3 separate regions of the Homo sapiens genome follow, and regions 2 and 3 are each linked to region 1. The links are contacts of gene promoters, found by promoter capture Hi-C in blood cells and fetal thymus (Javierre and others, 2016). All regions are on one chromosome and are shown on one strand. Each heading gives the region's core, a stretch centred on a gene start or on the middle of the fragment in contact. The rest is flanking DNA. Distances are from core to core; before and after follow the strand shown. Region 1 holds the start of SLC9A2 (solute carrier family 9 member A2). Region 2 has its middle 19 kb from the start of SLC9A4. Region 3 overlaps SLC9A4 (solute carrier family 9 member A4).

Evidence for each region. The method cuts DNA at HindIII sites, captures the fragments that hold promoters and counts their contacts. A CHiCAGO score of 5 or more calls a contact.
Region 2: a fragment that was not itself captured here is called in contact with the fragment with the promoter of SLC9A2 in region 1 in 3 of 17 cell types (endothelial precursors, M1 macrophages and M2 macrophages); the score reaches 8.2 in endothelial precursors.
Region 3: a contact is called between a fragment that was not itself captured here and the fragment with the promoter of SLC9A2 in region 1, in 2 of 17 cell types (M2 macrophages and endothelial precursors). The highest score is 5.7, in M2 macrophages.

The regions. Positions count from the first base shown.
Region 1 is chr2:102,618,242-102,620,862 of GRCh38, forward strand. It overlaps SLC9A2 (solute carrier family 9 member A2), which reads left to right and starts at 1,312. Exons shown (of 12, transcript NM_003048.6): 1 at 1,312-1,896. The coding sequence starts at 1,608. RefSeq lists a silencer at 920-1,029. The HindIII fragment of the contact is 5,203 bases long and covers 1-2,451 here.
Region 2 is chr2:102,453,118-102,455,738 of GRCh38, forward strand. No RefSeq gene overlaps it. Among named protein-coding and RNA genes, the nearest start is that of SLC9A4, 19 kb to the right of the region's middle. The HindIII fragment of the contact is 4,240 bases long and covers 1-2,621 here.
Region 3 is chr2:102,489,830-102,492,450 of GRCh38, forward strand. All of the region lies in intron 2 of SLC9A4 (solute carrier family 9 member A4), which reads left to right. Among named protein-coding and RNA genes, the nearest start is that of SLC9A4, 18 kb to the left of the region's middle. The HindIII fragment of the contact is 2,652 bases long and covers 1-2,621 here.

The DNA.
Region 1 (2,621 bases), core at 62-2,561:
TCCCTCCATTACTTTGAAGACCCAAAGAGGACTGTTCCTTATTTTCTTCTATGCAGGTGGAGGATTTTTTTTTCTTGTACCCTCTGCTGACATCTCACTGATTTTCTATGTTAGAACTTTGAAAGAAAAAAAAAAAAAAAACGGCTTTGAAGGTCGAACTGCCTGGTGTTTGTTTAATAGTAGAAGCCACGTGTTTTGACACATCAAAGATTAAGAAAAGAGAAGGATTTTATTTCATAAATATCAAAGGGAAAACTTTCAGTTAATTGAATGGCAACTAGTCCCCTTTGTGCTCATTTCGGTTTCTGGCGATAAAGATGCTCAAACAGTGAGATCGCAACCAGTGAAGGAGGCGCTCTGAAGGACAGGAAAGGTTGGCTCTGCATGAGAAAGCCCTTTTAGATCCAGAAGAAGAATCACGCTTCCTTTCTTTTCCTGACCACAGCCTGTCCTGTAATTAGCGGAGCAAGTCAATCTGAGCGAGGCAAATCACTGGTTTTCCATGAAATAATTATATTTCTTATGCTCTTGGACATGTACACCTCTAAGCCTAAAAGCGGAGAAAGATGTTTTGGTTTTTTTTACGTGAGCTGGGGGAGGGAGAAGAAAAGTGGCAGCGACAGTGTAGCAAATGGGTGAAAGCAGCACAATGTGGCAAGAGGAGAGAACAGGATTCCGATTCCGTGGGGGCGTGGGAACACTGAGTTCCGCGCAGGGAGTTTCCCTGTTCAGAGCACCTTGTGCGCGAGTTGATAACTCTCGGAAAGGAAACAAAATTTGGCTTTCCTAAACTTTCTGTACGTCCAGAGAATCCCATGCCTTGTCTTGGCCTCCGCAGCGCCAGGCTGGGGTGACAGCACTCCTCCTCCACCGGCCCGGGCTTCTCCTCCGGACCGCGAGCCTGTGGCGCCTCCCCGCGCGCCCAGCGCACCGGGGTGTCCCCTTGGAGGAGCCTGCGGGGGCGGGGGAGGAGGGAAGGGCGCGACTCGTGGGTCGCGCTGGTTCCTTCACTGGATGGACGTCCGACGCTGCCTCCGGGGCGGAGACAGCTCCGGCCACCATGCGCCCGTTGCGGCGATTCCACCCACAGTTCGCTGGCTCTGGGGGTGGCGGGTCTTGGCGCGCGGTGCCTGCGCGAAGGGAGGGCAGCCATCGCCCCCGCGGTCACTGGGGCCCCGCGTTCCCCGCGGGCTCGGGCAGGTGCGCGGTGTGCCGGCCAGGTCCCCTTGTCCTCCTGCCCTGCGGCTTGGGCGCCGCGCCCGCCCCGCCCCCGCCCGCGGGCCGCCCTGGGCAGGGCCTGCCGCTGCGGCTGGAGAGCAGCGCACCGGCATGGGCAGGCGGCCGGCGGCGGAGGGCGGCTGAGGGCTGCTGAGGGTACGCGCAGCGGCCTCTCGTCGCCCTGCACGTGCCTCGCCAGGCAGTGCGCCTGCTCGCAGCGAGGACCTAGCCCTCTGGTTGCAGAGACCCGGTGCCGCAGCAGCGGCGGGTGGCTGTCGCTGCCCTGCCCTGCACGGGGCAGGGCGGAGCGGGCTGAGCAGCCCGGGCGCGATGCGTTGAGCGCTCGGAGGGCCAACCGCCGGTCCCCTTGGCGGCAACCGGCGGCACCCATGGAACCACTGGGCAACTGGAGGAGCCTGCGGGCGCCACTGCCTCCGATGCTGTTGCTGCTGCTCCTGCAGGTGGCGGGGCCCGTGGGCGCCCTGGCGGAGACCTTGCTGAACGCGCCGAGGGCCATGGGCACCAGTTCCAGCCCGCCTAGCCCTGCGAGCGTGGTGGCTCCCGGAACGACGCTGTTCGAGGAGAGCCGGCTGCCTGTGTTTACGCTGGATTACCCCCACGTGCAGATCCCCTTCGAGATCACCCTTTGGATCCTGCTGGCCTCCCTGGCCAAGATTGGTGAGCGAACTGGACTTGTGGGGAATGGGAGGGGGCGATCTCGGGGGGACACCTGGAGGGTGACCGGGTCAGCCAGCTGACCTCTAGATAGTGACCGCCTCATCTTGAATCAGGGCAGGGACGACAGATGGAGCAGCTTCTTCTGGTTGAAAAGGACCCTTGGAAGAGCAGTTTCGCGTTTTGGTTCTTAAGGGAACATTGGCCTTGAAATGGCCCCAAGTGTAAGTTCTACAAACTCAGCGATTGCTGCTTACTTCTGCCGCACGGAACGCCAAGTTTGTCAGCTCTCTGCTTAAGTTGAGTGAGATCTGTTTATTGAAGTGTACCAGTCTCACCTGCAGGGAGAGAGGTGCCGACGAACCCCGGAGCTATGCATAATGTGGTTAAAACCCTGGATGCTACAGGAGAGAGGCGCCTTGGCAGTGACACAGACCCTGCTGTGCGCCTGACTAATGAGGTGCATGGAAGGGGACCAGGGACACCTGAGTGCTTGCAGCTGCAATAGGAACGCCCTTTCTCCTCCCTCTATTGGGTTGAGGCTGTCACTCTCCAGGAAGCTTTTGCTTCGGGGTGGCTGAGGCCAGTGAGGTGAGATGCATATTTAAAAATAATTAACTCTGGGCCCAGGACAATGGCCCAGCCTGTAATCCCAGCACACTGGGAGGCCCAGACGTGAGGATCCCTTGAGGCCAGGAGTTCAAGATCATCATGGGCAACATAGCAAG
Region 2 (2,621 bases), core at 62-2,561, 170 kb before region 1:
GATATGGGCTTGGAAAGAAGAGTAGAGTTAATTTCAGCTCCTCCTTGTGATGTCGGCCAGAGATCTTTGTGTTAGGTATAAAAGTGTAAATCCTTACCCTGGGCCCCTGGAAGTACAGACCAACTGGACCAAAATGATCAGGCCAATGAAGAGACAAGGAATGCACTTGCAGTGACATACAAAGCAGAGAGACACTGGCCAGAGTCAGCAGTGCAGCTAAGAGTCTGGGGAATAAGGATATACACTGGTTAAACAGCAGCAAGAATGGAATGTGAACAGAGCTGTAGCCTGAACCTTCTGCTGAGGCTGGCGATCCTATGGGCTTCCGATCTGGGCGTCTCCCTTTAAGTTCTCCTAAGTAATAAGGTGATGGGCTGCAGGGCCATGAAACTGTTTCTGATAGACGAGGCCAATTTCCTCCTCATAAGTGTGTTTCCTTTACCAGAGTTTAACCTGCAGTTAAAATAGTGTTCCACTCACGTATAAACATCAAGCTCTTATACTCTGTCTTTTCTGAAGGAATAAAATGATTTATCATCTGAGCAATAAATAAAAGCAATGTCTGGACTCATTCACATGCAGTGTGTCACACCCACCAGTCTGGATGTGATCCAAGTTCAGAGTGGCTAAAAGTCATTGTCGTCTTGGGGCCTGCGTGAAACACTCTTCTGCTCTTTATTCACAGAGGCACCCACATCATAAAAACCACTGTGGCTTTGGCACCAAGCAACATCCTTGTTGGAAATTTCAGTGATAAAGTTAACAATGAGTTAAAGGGTATAAATTATTCTTGGAGGAAGTTTCTTGTGGGAAGGATCATTGCAGGGTCTCAGTGAAGAGGAGCCCATATTGTCACTGTGCCATTGTGCTTTGGTGATGGCCAGGATCCCTGGCCTTCCTGCCCGCCACTCTCTGAGATTTAAGACTCAGACTTCTTTTGGCCACTTTGTTCAGTTTATCCTAAGATAGATAATGCTAGAACCAAGCTATTCAGATGTCCAGCGTTTTGACCTTAGCTTCGTGGAAAATCAAATAGAGCTTCAGGTTAGCACATACACAAAAGGAGAAATAGCCAGCTGTAATATTTACAGAATACACTCTTTCCAGGCTGCTAGGTACACTGAACATAACAAGGTAGCATTCGGGACAGGGGGCTATTTATATTTCTTATATGTCAATTAACCACAACAAAGCAGACAACCAAAACAAATTTTCTATGTATAGGAGACTGATTGCAATAGAACAATTGGACTCAGTGGAATATAATTAGAAAAGAGTATTATTTCCCTGTCACATCTTCTGAGGTGTCCATATGTTCTAGTTCCTGGTTGCACCTATTGTCCAAGTATAATTATTATAGTACTCTCTTTCACTCTGAAAAAGTGTCCTACCTTGGATGATGGTCACTCTACCTCTAACACTCATCATAGAGAACTCCTTACTGACCCTTCTATGATAGCCCGAGCAGTTCTCATAGCTTTCCTGGTCCTTTTCGGGTTTTAATACCTACATTTAACATCTATATCATTTCTAGGTTAAAATTCTAGGTAAGATGGAGTGAACAACACCATCCTGTCTCTTCCTCCTAGTGCAGCCATAAAGTCTGGATAAAAATGCATCAAAAATCAATTTGAGTATTCTGAAAAGTAAATAGAAGCAGACGGATTGGGGAAGACAATAATTCAAAGTCTCATAATTTGTCTCCAGTCTCTTCTGACTTAGACTCAGTACAGTCTGAAACCCAGAAGTAGACATCAGTGATAACAGAAAGAGCTTCAGAAGAAGCACTCTAGTTCTGGCTTGAAGACTGAGAAAGAGTTTCCTAGCCCTTCCATATTTTCCCTTTCATTTTCTTTCATTGCCCACTCTCTAAGCAATCCTGTGGTAGCACCAGTGACACCACCAAAAGCAGTGGTATTAGCGGCCCTCGAGAGCCTAAATCTCCAGGAAAGGGAATTGTCCACCTTGATATGAGGACCTGTAGTCCCAGTAGGGTGTGGCAAGCCTCTGTTGATGTTTTATTCTTTCTTTATCCTCTTACCTTTTCGTGAGGTGGATGTAAGCAGTTGTAGGAAGTGCACTGCAGAGTGAAGTAAATAAAGCCTCAATGCTTTGGCCAGAGAACTGCACAGAGGAGGAGAGTACAGGCAGAAAGGAGCTCAGGAAACTGAATCCATAAAATTGTTTATAAACCTTTGGACCCATTCCCAAGCTGTGCATGTATGAATCTGATCCTAAAGGGAATACCATAAACTTTCAGAACTGAGCTATAGGAGAGATCACTTTCTGAGTTCCAGACTGGCTGCTGAAAGGTATAAATATGAAGTAGGTCCAAATAGAACTGAAAGGCAGTGAAACAAAACTGAAATTGAAACCACAGGCTTAGTTTGGAGCCTTAATCCCACTGGGCTAATTGCCTGTTGAAGCAGAAATAACATAATACATAAGATTTCAACAAGATCTAGAATCGTATAACATAATGTTTAAAACATCCAGGCTGTAATTTGTTAAAAGCAAAATTATGACATTTTCTGGTAGGATTTTCAATATAGGTAGATGTAATGCAACATAAAGGAGGGCAGGTAAGGGGCCCAGATGACGGTAAGGTGTCTATTTCCCAC
Region 3 (2,621 bases), core at 74-2,573, 130 kb before region 1:
TTGCTAGGTAATTGCTGGTCTTCTTAGTTGGTTTCCTTTTGTGGTTGGAAAGTCAGAGAAGGTGGTTGCCAATAAACTGCCCATGACAGAGTTTACTATGCCAGAGCTCCTTAATACAAGCTAGAAAATGAACTGGGTTCATCATTTAATTTTTTGAGTCAGGTTGTTTACTACAGGTCTTTATGATATTCTTTGCATTTTTCCATTATTTGGCATGCAGGAAAGATCATTCTTATTGTATTATGTTGTGACTCTTAACTTCCAACGTTTTTTTTTTTTAACTTGACAGTAAAACAAATAAAGGGTCAGTAATTAGTTAGGCTTTTTGTTTTAAGAAACTGAGTTATGGCAAGCTCAAGCAGTGAAGATTAATTGTAAAGATATGCAAGGCGATGAGGAAGACATAGCCCTCTGTATTAGCCCTCTAGGGCTGTTGTAATAAAATAGCAGAGATTGGGGGGCTGAAACAATCTCTGAAATATGAAAGACTTTTATTCTTTCACATTATGGAGGTTGGAAGTCCAAGAACAAGATGTGGGCAGGGTTGGTTTCTGTTGAGGCCTCATTCCTTGCCTTGCAGGCAGCTACCTTCTTGCTTTGTCCTTATGTGGCCTTTCTTCTGTGTGACCCTCCCTAGTATCTCTTCATTTTCTTATAAGGACACCAATCATATTGGATTAAGGCCCCACCCTTATGATCTCATTTTAACTTAATGACCTCTTGAAAGATGCTGTCTCTATATGCAGTCACATTATCAGGTACTGGCAGTTAAACCCCAACATATAAATTTGGAGAGGGGGGCATGATTCAACCCGTAGCTGACCCCTCAGGAACCCAGGAATAATAAGTGCTTTATGATGAGGTGTCACAAAGGTTCATCTAGAACCAAGCTGCTTTTAGGAATTTCAGAAGCAAAAGTTCATAGATCTTTTACCATCAGGATGAACTTGATTATGCTGTGTAATAAGCATCTCTCCAAACCTAAATAGCCAAAAACAACAAAGGTTTATTTCTTACTTGTACTACTTGCCTTTTGCTAGCCAACAGGTCTCTCCCTTCATAATGTTTACTCAAGGTCTTTAGCTTATAGAGCAGTTACCATATTGAACATTGCTGGTCACTGTGCTGGAGGAAAGAGAGATTTCTGGAGGGTCTCACCTCAGCAAGCAAATGCCCCATTCTGGAAATGACATATATCTCTTCTATTTGAAACTCTCTCTTGTAATTCTTTCTTGAGAAAAAAACAAACAAAAACTCTCAAACTCAAAAGTTGGCCAGGCATAATCACATGGTGACAACCAACCTCAAAGAGACTAGAAGTGCAATCCTACAAGATTCCTAGAAGGGAAAGAAATATTGGATAAGCAGTACTAATAGCTATTACATTGTCATTTCGGAGCCTCATCAGGGATGCATTTGGTCGCTTGCTCACACTCTGCTGCTTTTTCAACTGAATTTTTTTATTTCTCTTCCCATTTGTACTAATGCTTTTTTTTTTTTTTTTTTTTTTTTTTTTTTTTTTTACTGTTAATGAAGAAATACCCGAGACTGGGTAATTTATAAAGAAAAAGAGGTTTCATGGACTCAAGCACCACATAGTTGGGGAGGCTTCACAATCATGGTGGAAGGCGAAGGAGGAGCAAAGCCACGTTTTACATGGTAGCAGGCAAGAGAGCATGTACAGGGGAACTGCCATTTATAAAACCACCAGATCTCATGAGACTTATTCATTATCACGAGAACAGCATGAGAAAAACCCACCCTATGATTCAATTACCTCCCACTGGGTCCCTCCCATGACAAGTAGGGATTATGCGAGCTACAATTCAAGATGAGATTTGGGTGGGAACACAGCCAAATCATATTGTTTTACCGCTGTCCCCTCCCAAATCTCATGTCCTCACATTTCAAAACCAATCATGCCTTCCCAATAGTTCCCCAAAGTCTTAACTCATTTCAGCATTAACTCAGAAGTCCACAGTCCAAAGTCTCATCTCAGACAAGGCAAGTCCCTCCCACCTATGACCCTGTAAAATCAAAAGCAAGTTAGTTCCTTCCTAGATACAGTGGGGGTAAAGGCACTGGGTAAATACACCTCTTCCAAATGGGAGAAATTGACCAAAATGAAGGGGCTACAGGCCCCATGCAAGTCCAAAATCCAGAAGGGCAGTCAAATCTTAAAGCTCCAAAATGATCTCCTTTGATTCCATGTCTCACATCCAGGTCATGCTAATGCAAGTAGGTTCCCATGGTCTTGGGCAGCTCTGCCCCTGTGGCTTTGCAGGGTACAGCCCCCACCTCCCCCACCACCCCAGCTGCTTTCATGGGCTGGTGTTGAGGGTCTGTGGCTTTTCAAGGTACAAGCTGTCAGTGGATCTGCCATTCTGGGGTCTGGAGGCCTGTGGCCTTCTTCTCACAGCCCCACTAGGCAGCACCCAAATGGGGAGTCTGTGTGGGGGCTCCAACTCCACATTTTCCTTCTGCACTGTCCTAGCTGAAGTTCTCCATAAGGGCCCTGCCCCTGCAGAAAACTTCAGCCTGGACATCCAGGCATTACCATACATTCTATGAAATCTAGGCAGAGGTTCCCAAACCTCAATTCTTGACTTCTGTGCACCCAC